2 separate regions of the Homo sapiens genome follow, and region 2 is linked to region 1. Evidence: promoter capture Hi-C in human tissues and cell types (Jung and others, 2019). All regions are on one chromosome and are shown on one strand. Each heading gives the region's core, a stretch centred on a gene start or on the middle of the fragment in contact. The rest is flanking DNA. Distances are from core to core; before and after follow the strand shown.

Evidence for each region. The method cuts DNA at HindIII sites, captures the fragments that hold promoters and counts their contacts. A contact is called where the count stands out against the background at its distance.
Region 2: a contact is called between a fragment that was not itself captured here and the fragment with the promoter of OVCA2 in region 1, in 2 of the 25 tissues and cell types used here (aorta and thymus).

The regions. Positions count from the first base shown.
Region 1 is chr17:2,040,772-2,046,862 of GRCh38, forward strand. It overlaps OVCA2 (OVCA2 serine hydrolase domain containing), which reads left to right and starts at 1,251. Exons shown (of 2, transcript NM_080822.3): 1 at 1,251-1,460; 2 at 1,834-2,654. The coding sequence starts at 1,277. The coding sequence ends at 2,333. DPH1 (diphthamide biosynthesis 1) reads left to right here. Exons shown (of 13, transcript NM_001383.6): 10 at 332-410; 11 at 710-850; 12 at 997-1,104; 13 at 1,834-3,127. The coding sequence ends at 1,086. RefSeq lists silencers at 754-843, 1,354-1,553 and an enhancer at 1,104-1,163. The HindIII fragment of the contact is 24,727 bases long and covers 1-6,091 here.
Region 2 is chr17:2,124,104-2,130,299 of GRCh38, forward strand. All of the region lies in intron 13 of SMG6 (SMG6 nonsense mediated mRNA decay factor), which reads right to left. It also overlaps the pseudogene MCUR1P1. Among named protein-coding and RNA genes, the nearest start is that of SMG6-AS1, 37 kb to the left of the region's middle. The HindIII fragment of the contact is 3,207 bases long and covers 1-3,078 here.

The DNA of each region.
Region 1 (6,091 bases), core at 1-2,500:
TTTGGGGCTCAGAGGCAATGGCAACATCACATTTGTCCTTGTGAGATGAGTTTGAGCGGTGGCTGACACCTGCCCTGTACCAGGTACTAAATGTGGTTCTGGGGATACTATCACCAGTGAGCTGCCCTGGAAAGCTCATTGTCGGCAGAGGAAACAGGAGAAAACACGCAACAATACAGTATTCCAAACAGCAGTGGGTCACTGTCTTTACTTTAGGATTCATAAAGCCTGTTAATGAATGGGTGTGCTGGGGGCACTGTCATGTTCTTCAGCATGCTGCCTGGGCGACGAGGAGGCCCTTCCTAGGGTCTGACCTGGCTTCCCTTCCCAGGTGGGTGCAGGTGGCATGTCCACGTCTCTCCATTGACTGGGGCACAGCCTTCCCCAAGCCGCTGCTGACACCCTATGAGGTAACACCAAGCTCTGGGAGAGAGTGGGCTTTGGACGTGGTTCTCAAAGGTGAGGTCTGGAGTGGAGTGGGGTGGGTGGGCAGCACTTCGTTATGTTCGTAGATTCCGGAGTCTGTCTCGATTTCTCCAGCGGAGTCACTTCCTAGCTGTGTAGCCTTAGGCAAGGCCCTGAACCACACAGTTCCCTTCTGTGGCAGGGGACAGTGTGCCCTTCACAGGCCGTCGTGAGGACTGAATTCAGTAATCCAGGGGCAGAAAAACACTGGCAGATGTTATTGTCCCTCCCTCCCCTCCCCTAGGCGGCCGTGGCTCTGAGGGACATTTCCTGGCAGCAGCCCTACCCGATGGACTTCTACGCTGGCAGCTCCTTGGGGCCCTGGACGGTGAACCACGGCCAGGACCGCCGTCCCCACGCCCCGGGCCGGCCCGCGCGGGGGAAGGTAGGCGGGGGCTTCCAGGAGGGAGGAGAGACCGCGCCTGGGCACTGGCCGCCGCCCTGCGACCGCGACGGGAAACGCACAGGAGCGGAGCGGAGGGAAACGCAGGGTCGCAGGAGCGAGACCCTAACCAAAGTCTGCGACCTCAGGTGCAGGAGGGGTCCGCGCGTCCCCCTTCGGCCGTGGCTTGCGAGGACTGCAGCTGCAGGGACGAGAAGGTGGCGCCGCTGGCTCCTTGACGCGCTCCCGGGCCTCAGGTATCAGCCCCCGCTCTGGGTGCGCCCCGCCTTTTGCCGTTGTCATGGGAACGCCTTGGCGCTCCGAGGCCCGCCCTCGGGGCGGTGCTGACGTTCGGTTCCGCCCCGTGCATTGTGCTTCCGCTCGGGGAAAGACCGCTTCCGGTGCTTCCGTCGCTCCTTGCCGGGCATAATGGCCGCGCAGCGACCCCTGCGGGTCCTGTGCCTGGCGGGCTTCCGGCAGAGCGAGCGGGGCTTCCGTGAGAAGACCGGGGCGCTGAGGAAGGCGCTGCGGGGTCGCGCCGAGCTCGTGTGCCTCAGCGGCCCGCACCCGGTCCCCGACCCCCCGGGCCCCGAGGGCGCCAGATCAGACTTCGGTGAGACAAGCCCCGCTCCGGAAACGCACTCAGTTTCCTCCATCTTGTTTCGTCCCCCTCGACACCCTTCAGCATCCCCCACCCTGCGTCCACCCGCATTCCTCCCACCCAGTCCACACCCTTCATTTCTCGCGACCCATACCCTCTTTGCTCAAACTGCAGCCTGTCCTCCCAGGCTTCCGCCTTCACCGTCTTCCTCCGCTGTCTCCTGTTCAGGCCAATCCACTCATTTCCCCCCTCTCATTTCCCCCAGACTTTTGCCTCGATTCCCTTTTTCTCTCTGTCATCTCGAACCCTCCTGCCCTTTCTCATTTCTTTCCTTCCTGGAGCCTCCCATGCCCTAATCCCATCCTTTTTCCTCATATCGCTGTAGGGTCCTGCCCTCCGGAGGAGCAGCCTCGAGGCTGGTGGTTTTCAGAGCAGGAGGCCGACGTTTTCTCCGCATTGGAAGAGCCCGCCGTCTGCAGGGGCCTGGAGGAATCACTGGGGATGGTGGCACAGGCACTGAACAGGCTGGGGCCTTTTGACGGCCTTCTTGGTTTCAGCCAAGGGGCTGCGCTAGCAGCCCTTGTGTGTGCCCTGGGCCAGGCAGGCGATCCCCGCTTCCCCTTGCCACGGTTTATCCTCTTGGTGTCTGGTTTCTGTCCCCGGGGCATTGGGTTCAAGGAATCCATCCTGCAAAGGCCCTTGTCATTGCCTTCGCTCCATGTTTTTGGGGACACTGACAAAGTCATCCCCTCTCAGGAGAGTGTGCAACTGGCCAGCCAATTTCCCGGAGCCATCACCCTCACCCACTCTGGTGGCCACTTCATTCCAGCAGCTGCACCCCAGCGTCAGGCCTACCTCAAGTTCTTGGACCAGTTTGCAGAGTGAAAGATCAAGAAATGTCTCTGCTCCTACATCCAGCTCCTCTAGGGGCAGCCTCCGTCATCCATGCCCTCCCAGGACCCTCCACTCACTGCTGTGAGTGCGCCTCACCAGAACCAGTTAAGAGACAACTATCAATTCTTGAGACCCAAATTATAAGGGCCCTGCCCTGTACTGAAGAAAAGGGGAGCACAAGGCCTTAATGGACATTGACTTGTGAAAACGCAAACATGAATATGGTTGGAGAGCCCTGGATTAGGAGGGTGACATGGGGAAGGCAGAGGCTGGCACCATGGTGACTGCCACATAATAAAGTGGTGATTTGGATTTTGAGCATCTTTTTCCTGGTACACACAGAAAAACATTTTATAATGGAAGTCGGTTTCTTGGCCATCTACATAGTTTTCTGGGCAGCGCCAAGCAGGGAGGTGTCTCCAGTTGTGAGTCCTCGGACAGGCTGCTGCATGGGTGCACATACTCACGTTATTGGTGGAAGTTTTAAGTCCCAAACTGAAGGGAAGGAGGCCTAGGTGGCACAATCAGGGAGGAATATACATCTGAGAAGTTTTGGGAAGACATCACCTGGCAAGGCTGCCTGAACCACAGTAATTTAGTCTTCCTCTATCCAGATCACTGAGAGTTGTGTGCTGGTCTTCTCTCAAACCCTGGATGTGTTACCTGCTTCTCCCTAAGTGCTCTAACCTCGCTGAACTATGAGCCTGAAGGGTGGGTCGATGCCAGACCTTAGGTGGAGGCCAAAGACAGTACAGAATAAACAGCTTCTTCCTAAATTGACCCCATCTTGAGGGTTTCTGAGATTGATGCCATTCTTTAGTGACTACAGCCAAGGCCTAAGCAATCCAGCTGGTTTTCCCCTTGGGGCGTGTAGTTGTTCTTGGATACTTTGAGGATTGCTCACTCTTTTTTTTTTTTTTTTTGAGACAGGCTCACTCTGTCACCCAGGCTGGAGAGCAGTGGCCAAGATCCTGGCTCACTGCAACCTCAGCCTCCTGGGTTCAAGCAGTTCTGTCTCAGCCTCCTGAGTAGGTGGCGTTACAGGCATGCGCCACCACGCCTGGCTAATTTCTATATTTTTTTGTAGAGATAGGGTTTTGCCACGTTGCCCAGGCTGGTCTCAAAACTCTTTAGCTCAAACAATCCACCTGCCTCAGCCTCCCAAAGTGCTAGGATTATAGGCCTGAGCCACTGCACCTACCTAGGATTGCCCACTCTTTTTTTGTTTTCTTTACTTTTAAAGACAAGGTCTGACTCTATCACCCAGGCTGGAGTGCAGTGGCACAATCTTGACAGCCTCCACCTCCCGGGCTCAAGCCATCCATCCTCCCACCTCAGCCTCCCAAGCAGCTGGGGCTGCAGGCGCAAATCACCATGCCTGGCTAATTTTTGTATTTGTTGTAGAGAAGGGGTCTCACCATGTTGTGCGGATGGTCTCCAACTTGCGAGCTCAAGCAATCCACCTGTCCTGGCCTCCCAAAGTGCTGGAATTAACAGGCGTGAGCCACCTCACCTGGCCAATTGCCCACTCTTAATGAGTTCCCTCCCATTTCCAGTGCCACCTGACACCCCCCACCCCCTGACACACACACACACACTCTTGTTTTCTGACTTCCTGCCTCTGCAAGACAAGAAGCCTGTTCTTTTTCTGGAAGATCACACCAACTCCTGTTTAGCCCTCAGACATAGTTGCCAGGGAGCTAAGCAACTGAGCAGGAATTATGGTCAGGGACACAGCACAAATACTCCAGCCCATTTTTCTGACAACCAGACTAATATCCCTTACATTACCGAAAGTTCTGGGTTCCTCACTACAGAGATTAGCTGTCCAAAATTAAAAAAAACAAAACAAAACAGAATTATCCGCCCAGAGACCTAGTTACTGGGTGTGGAAAGTGTGTGTGGGGAGGGGTGGGAGGTGGTTCTCCCTTGCTTCAGTTGGCTTCTGCCTTGTTTTAAGGAATCTTCTCCTTTAGCAAAAGGAGGAGACTTTGGAATGGATTGATTACACAGACTGTGGTATCTGACCCATTGAATTTTAGAAAAAATTCTGATTTAAAGTTTCAGAAATTGCACAGAAAATTTCAGATTTCTGGCTTCTCTGGAAATGATAGATTTGCAGTTCAGGGCTCCCATACCCTCATGGTAATCATAGGCTGCCCCCTTTAGCACGGTCCCAAGAGGTGAAAACGACTTGTACACCCCAGCTGCTTGGGATTATTGAGGACGAAAGTAGAGAGAAGGGGAGAAATATTGGGGAGTGAATTTTGAGCCAAGGCTTAAAATTAAAAGTGGGGGAGGTAGAGCCCAGCAGTAGTAGGTGGAGGAGAAGGGCTCCTGGCCGGGGGTGAGGATTCCTCCTGAGAACCATAGTGTCCAAGCTAGAGGGAAACATGGGGTCCACTAGTTCTCGACAAGTGGAACAGGTCACTTCCCATCATGCCGTCCAGGAGCAAGAGAGACTCTTAGGGGGTTGTGCCCCTCCCCACCCCCAATACGCAGATTCTGTGTACCATTTACATCCAGAACATTGGTTAAAACCTGAATTCTGGCCCTGCGTGGTGGCTCATGCCTGTAATCCCAGCACTTTGGGAGGCGGAGGCGGGCAGATCACCTGAGGTTGGGAATTTGAGGCCAGCCAGACCAACAGAGAGAAACTCTGTCTCTACTAAAAATACAAAATTAGCCAACCATGGTGGCGCATGCCTGTAATCCCAGCTACTTGGAAGGCTGAAGCAGGAGAATTGCTTGAACCTGGGAGGCAAAGGTTGCGGTAAGCCGAGATCACGCTATTGCACTCCAACCTGGGCAACGAGAGCGAAACTGTCTCAAAAAAAAAAAAAAAAAAAAGTAGCTGGGCGTGGTGGCATGCACCTGTAATCCTAGCTACTTGGTAGGCTGAGGCAGGAGAATTGCTTGAACCCAGGAGGCGGAGGTTGCAGTGAGCCGAAATTGTGCCACTGCACTCCAGCCTGGGTGACAGAGTGAGACTCCATCTCAAAAAACCAACTTGAATTCTGGGGCCAACTCCAGATGTACTGAGTCAGAATCACTGGGACCCAGGAATCTGCATTTTGGCAAATTGCCCCCATCATTCCCAAGCAGGGATTTGAAAAGCCACTGCCTTAGGGGTTGAATGAAAGCCTCGGGTGAGGGTGTGTTATCTGAAAAACCCCTAGTGTGACTCTCTTGCAACCCACCAGGGAGGGGAGCAAGCTCCCCAGAACAATCACTGCTTAAACATTTTCAATTTATAGCAAAGGAAAATTAGGTCTGAAGGATAGAAATAGGAATAGCATTTATTTATTTACTTACTTATTTGAGACGGAGTCTCGCTCTGTCACCCAGGCTGGAGTGCAGTGGTACAGTCTCCGCTCTCTGCGACCTCCGCCTCCTGAGTTCGAGCGATCCGCCTGCCTCAGCCTCCAGAGTAGCTGGGATTACAGGTGTGCATCACCACTCCCAGCTAATTTTTGCATTTTCAGTAGAGACAGGGTTTCGCCATGTTGGCCAGGCTGGTCTTGAACTCCTGATCTCAAGTGATTCGCCCACCTCAGCCTCCCAAAGTGTTGGGATTACAGGTGTGAGCCACTGCACCCGGCCAGAAGAGCATTTATTGAGTAATAACTGTATACCAGACATTGTAATAAGCAAGAGCTTTAATGCGGCCTAATTTAGGGCCAGGTGCGATTGCTCATGCCTATAATCCCAGCACTTTGGGAGGCTAAGGCATGAGGATCAATTGAGCC
Region 2 (6,196 bases), core at 225-2,724, 84 kb after region 1:
GAGAGAGAGAGGAGAGCTGAGCAGGCTGGGTGGGACAGTTGGGGCACTTCTAACTTCTGACACCAGGACACCCAAGTGGTTGGCAGAGGCATTTTGGTAGTGCGGTGACAGATCAACTGTAGTGTGGGAAATCCCAAATGCTACAGTAAAGAAGTTATCTCTGTACAAAGAAAGGGGTGACAATAAGGGTGGGGTACAGGCCACAGGGCAGTAAGGTAGAGAAATCAGTTTTAGCGAACTGGCTAACTACTGGGTTAGTCCAATTCTGAATACACAAGTAATATTCTAGCCTCTTTTCAGGAGAGACTGATGTAGAGTAGTCATGGGCAGGCCAGGGAACAAAGTTCCATTTCTGGCCTAAAGTGGATTGGAGGGTTCCTCCGCAGAGAGTCGTAACAGAGTGTTTATATAAAACCCCACAAACCCACTGCTCCTGGCTGTCCAAGGCCAAAGGCATCTTCTTCCTGGAGAGCTGTGTCTCTTACCCTCTAGGCTCTAAGACTCCCTATTTTACTTAGTCAGGTTTCCTGTTTACTCTGAGACCTGTGATCTCCCCGGGGAGTCATTAGAGAGAAGCTGGGGAAGGGGCAGCAGGGAGACGGAACAGTACTAAGGACACAGGTCTTCCGCATCCTACCATTACTTCTTACATGGCAGAAAAACGAATGGACACTGAAAGGGGGTTTCCTGGTTTAATTAATTATTTACAGCGTTTATTCTTTATTTTTTGTTTCTAACGTGCAGGCATCTCTTAGACTGCTGACCCTCAAGGAAAATGCAATTGGGAGCACAACCATGATTGGCACCGAAAGGCATTTTTTGTTGCTGTTCCCATGAGAACCCCATCAGAATGATGAACAAGGTACATACGCTGCTATAAAATAATCAGCATCTCCATTTGGAGAAGGAATTTCTTTTAAAAACACCTCATTTGGGGCACTATGGTCTCTTCTTCTATGGAAATAGGAAGAGGCAGAAGGAGTTCCATTCCTGCCAGAGCAGAGTCTACTTTTTGCTAATTTTTTGGAAAACAAGAGGTTCTCTTTGGCTCTGGAGAAAAACAGACATTTCCAAAGGGAAAATAGAGAAGGAGACAGGGTCTGATGTGGCAAGACTTGTAGCCCTCTCATATCTCCGAGACAGAGATAACCTGGAGGGACCGAAACCCCCTATTTATTCACCCTTCTAACCATGCATTCCATACAATCCAGACATCCTGAGACCAATGATGATTCAGATACTACAAGGCCTCTGAAGACGTCACTACGATCCTACGATTTAGGAAGAAAAGAAAATCTGAGGATAATTCTCTTGGGCTTGCTGGCCAATAGGATGATGATTAGCTACAATATGGCCAAACAAATTTAAATTTCCTAAAATTGAATATAATTAAAAACGGAGTTCCAATAAATGGAAAAACATTCTATGTTCATGAATTGGAAGACTTAATATTGTTAAGCTGACTACAGTAACCAAAGCAATCTACAGATTCAATGCAGTTCCTATCAAAATCCCAATGGCATTTTCCACAGATCCATAAAAACATCTTAAAATTCATATGGAATCTAGCTGGATGCAATGGCTCATGCCAGTAGTCCCAGCACTCTGGGAGGCCAAAGCGGGCAGATTGCTTGAGGTCAGGAGTTGGAGACCAGCCTGGTCAACATGGCAAAACACCGTCTATACTAAAAATACAAAAATCAGCTGGGTGTGGTGGCGCATGCCTGTAATCCCAGGTACTTGGGAGGCTGAGGCACAAGAATCGCTTGAACCTGAGAGGCAGAGGTTGCAGTGAGCTGACATTGTGCCACTGCACTCCAGCCTGGGAGATGGAGTGAGAACCCATCTCAAAAAAAAAAAAAAAAAAATCATATGGAATCTTAAGGGACCCCATACAGCCAAATTAATCGTGAAAAAGAACAAAAGTTAAAGGGCTCATGCTTCTGGATTTCAAAACTTACTGCAAAACTATACTAATCAAAACGGTGTGGTACTGGCATAGAATAGAACAGAAAACCTAGAAGTAAACTCTCACAAATACAGGGTCAACTGACTTTTGACAAGGGTGTCAAGACCAATTCCAATCTTATGGAAGGAATAGTCTTTTCAATAAAAAGAGCTTAAAAAAACCTGGATATTCACATGCAAAAGAATGAAGCTGAACCCTTACCTAAGACCATATACAAAAACAAATTCAAAATGGATCAAAGACCTAAAAAGAGCTAAAACTAGAAAACTCTTAGAAGAAAGCATAAGGGAAAATCTTTATGACACTGGATTTGGCAATGATTTCTTGGATATGACATCAAAAGCATAGGAAACAAAAGAAAAAAATAAGCAGACCAGACACAGTGCCTCATATTTGTAATCCCAGCACTTTGGGAGGCTGAGGCAGGCAGATCACTTGAGGTCAGGAGTTGAGACCAGACTGGCCAACATGGTGAAACCCCATCTCTACTAAAAATACAAAAACTAGCCAGGTGGGCCCCTGTAATCTCAGCTATTTGAAAGGCGGGGCACAAGAATCACTTGAACCCGGGAGGTGGAGGTTGCAGTGAGCCAAGATCAAGCCACTGCACTCTGGCCTGGGCAACAGAGTGAGGCTCAGTTTCAAAAAAAAAAAAAAAAAAGCAAACTGGACTTTATCAAAATTAAACACTTTTGTGCATCAAAGGTGGAAACTCACACCAGTAATCTCAGCACTTTGGGAGGCTATGGTGGGACGATCACTCGAGGCTGAGGAGTTCAAGAGAAGCTTTGACAACATGGGGAGACCCTATTTCTACACACACACGCACACACATGCACACAGACACAAACATACATGCACACATGCGCACACATGCACACACACACATATACGCGTGAACACACGCGTGCATATAATTAGCTGGGTGTGGTGGTACGTGCTTGTGGTCCCAGCTACTTAGGAAGCTGAGGTGGGAGGATCCCTTGGGCTTGGGAGTTCGAGGCTGCAGTGAGCCGTAATGGTGACACTGCACTCCAGCCTGGGCAACACAGAGAGACCTTGTCTCAAAAAAAAAAAAAAAAAAAAAAAGACAAATATTGCATGATTCTACTTATATGAGATACTTACAATAGGGAAATGCATAGAGCTAGAAAGTAGAAGTTGCCAGGGGAAGGGGGAATGAGGAGTTACTGTGTAATGGTTACGGCGTTTGGAATGATGAAGAGTTCTGGAAATGGATAGTAGTGATGGTCGCACAACACTGTGAATGTACTTAATGCCACTGAGTTGTACACTTAAGAAATGGTTGAAATGGTAAATCCTTTTCCCCCCCTCTTTAAATAGACACTTTATTAGATCCACAGGTGATAAAATCCCAGAGCTACTGTTAGGCACGTAAATATAGACCCTGCTAAATATTTAATATTATCAAGCTTGTATGACTCAAGCATGGTTTTGGGGCCAGCATCCTCAGTTTCTATCTTCCTATCTCTCTGGGTGACGGCCCAATCTTGCTGGGCATGCAATGTCACTATTTCTGTTCTCAATTCCAGCAGCTTCCTTTCATTCAACGAATACAATTCTTTTACTCTGCTCTTTTCTAGGTTGAAGTCTAATTTAGTATCTGTTCGGACTTTAATCACTTCATCCATTACTTGTTTTAACTGATGTAGTTTGAGTTTTATTTTCTCACGTTCTGCTCTGAGGGCTGAAAATTCACTCTTCTCCAAAGTAATCATATCGTTTTTCACATTCACAGTCTGAGACATTATTTGCTGAAGAGCGATCTCCTGCTTCATCTTGGTGGCCATATCTTTGTAGACGATGTCCACGTTGGCCTCCAGTACCTGGACCAATGCAGACACAATGATTTCTGCTTGCTGAGTAGCAAACCCATGGTCTTCCAGAAAGCACACTAAGGAACGAGTGTCAAAGGAGAGCTTCCTACTCCCAGAAGAGCTGAAATCTCTCCTGTGCTCCAGCTGCAGGTATCCAGCAGACTCCTGCAGGAAGTGAGTATAGGCACCATGCTGAAGCATGGGTGAAGGGCGCTGGCAGCAGCAGCGATGCCCAGGGCAAGGCCCCACAGGCACATCCACGCGCCGCTTTGTCCAGCCAGTGGGGCGGCATACCCAAGGCACGAGTGCTCCCAGTCCCCAGGCTGCCGGCACGGAGCAGCGGCGGTCAAGTGCAGGGAGGGCACGAAATGGTAAATTTTATGTTGTGTATATTTTACCACAATTAAAAAAAATCATTTCTTCAGGTAGACCAGCCGCATTTCATGTGTTCAACAGCTACATGCGGCCAGTAGTTACCATACTAGACGGTGTCAAGTAGAACACTTTCCCCACTGCAGAAAGTGGTACTGGACAGGATGGCTCTAGAGTTAGATTAAAAACCACCGGATTCTGATGTCAACGGTATTAACCTATACGCCAATCCAACTGCCTTATGCTGTATTCTGTATGCCACTATCCTGCCAATTTGTTATTCTAACAGCCTCTCCAAGCATTGTATACCCACTATTGCAAACTTGAGGTCAGGAGTTCGAGACTAGCTTGACCAACGTGGTGAAACCCCGTCTCTACTAAAAATACAAAAATTAGCTGGGCGTGGTGGCGTGCACCTGTAGGCCCAGCTACTTGGGAGACTGAGACAGGAGAATCACTTGAACCCAGGAGGTGGAGGTTGCACTGAGCCAAGATCGCGCCACGGCACTCTAGCCTGGGTGACAGAGCAAGACTCAAAAAAAAAAAAAAAAAGAGAGAGAGAGAAAGAAAGAAAGAAAGAGGAAGACAAAAAGACAGAAAAAGAAAGAAAGAAAGAAAATGGCATGCAAGCAGCAGAGTAAAAACCTTTAAGAAAATGAAAGAAATATGTTATCTCCCATGAAACAACTATGAGTCAAGAATATGCTCATTTTGAAGTTTGGGAGAGTACACTGGACTATTTTAGGAAGAAAATGATAGTTTTAAATTAGAATTTTATTACTGGGCTGGGTGGGGTGGCTCACACCTGTAATCCCAGCATTTTGGGAAGCCAAGGCAGGCGGATCGCTTGAGCCCAGGATGGCGAAACCCCATCTTTATTAAAAATACAAAAAAGTAGCCAGATATGGTGGCACATGCCCATAGTCTCAGTTACTCAGGAGGGTGAGGTGGGAGGGGCAAGCCCAGGGAGGTCGAGGCTGCAGTGAGCCATAATCGCACCACTGTACTCCAGCCTGGGCAATGGGAATAAGAACCTATTTTAAAAAAATTATTAATGTGTAACCCCATATAAACAGGTTAAAAAGAAAAACTACACTATCATCAACAGATTAAGAAAAAATATTTAATAAAATTCAGCCCTTATTTGTGATTTAAAGAAAATACTCAGCAATCTAGGAATAGAAGCGAATGGTCTTAACATGACAAGATACACTTATCACAAATCTATGGGCCAGGCATGGTTGGTCACACCTGTAATCCCAGCACTTCGCGAGGCTGAGACAGGCAGACCACTTGAGGTCAGGAGTTCGAGACCAGCCTGGCCAACATGGTGAAATCCTGTTTCTACTTAAAATAAAAAAATCAGCCTGGCGTGGTGGTGCGCTCCTGTAACCACAGCTACTCGGCAGGCTGAGACAGGAGAATCGCTTGAACCCAGGAGGTGGAGGTTGCAATGAGCTGAGATCATGCCACTGCACTCCAGCCTGGGTGACAGAGCAAGGCTCTGTCTCAAAAAAAAAAAAAAAAAAAAAAAAAAAAGAAATCCATGACAAATAGATTTAATAATGTAACTTTAGAAGCATTGCTATTAAAGTTAGAAACATAGAATTTCTATTATTATGGTTACCATTATAGAACAAGACAGTTCAGTAAAGTTGATAGATGTAAGATGAAGATAAAGAAACAGCATTTAGGCTGGGGGCGAGGTGGCTCACATCTGTAATCCCAGCACTTTGGGAGGCTGAGGCGAGTGGATCACGAGGTCAGGAGATCAAGACCATCCTGGCTAACATGGTGAAATCCCGTCTCTACTAAAAAATACAAAAAATTAGCTGGGCGTGGTGGCGGGCGCCTGTAGTCCCAGCTACTCGGGAGGCTGAGGCAGGAGAATGGCGTGAACCCGGGAAGCGGAGCTTGCAGTGAGCCGAGATTGCGCCACTGCAGTCCGCAGTCCGGCCTGGGCGACAGAGCGAGACTCCGTCTCAAAAAAAAAAAAAAAAAAGAAACAGCATTTATA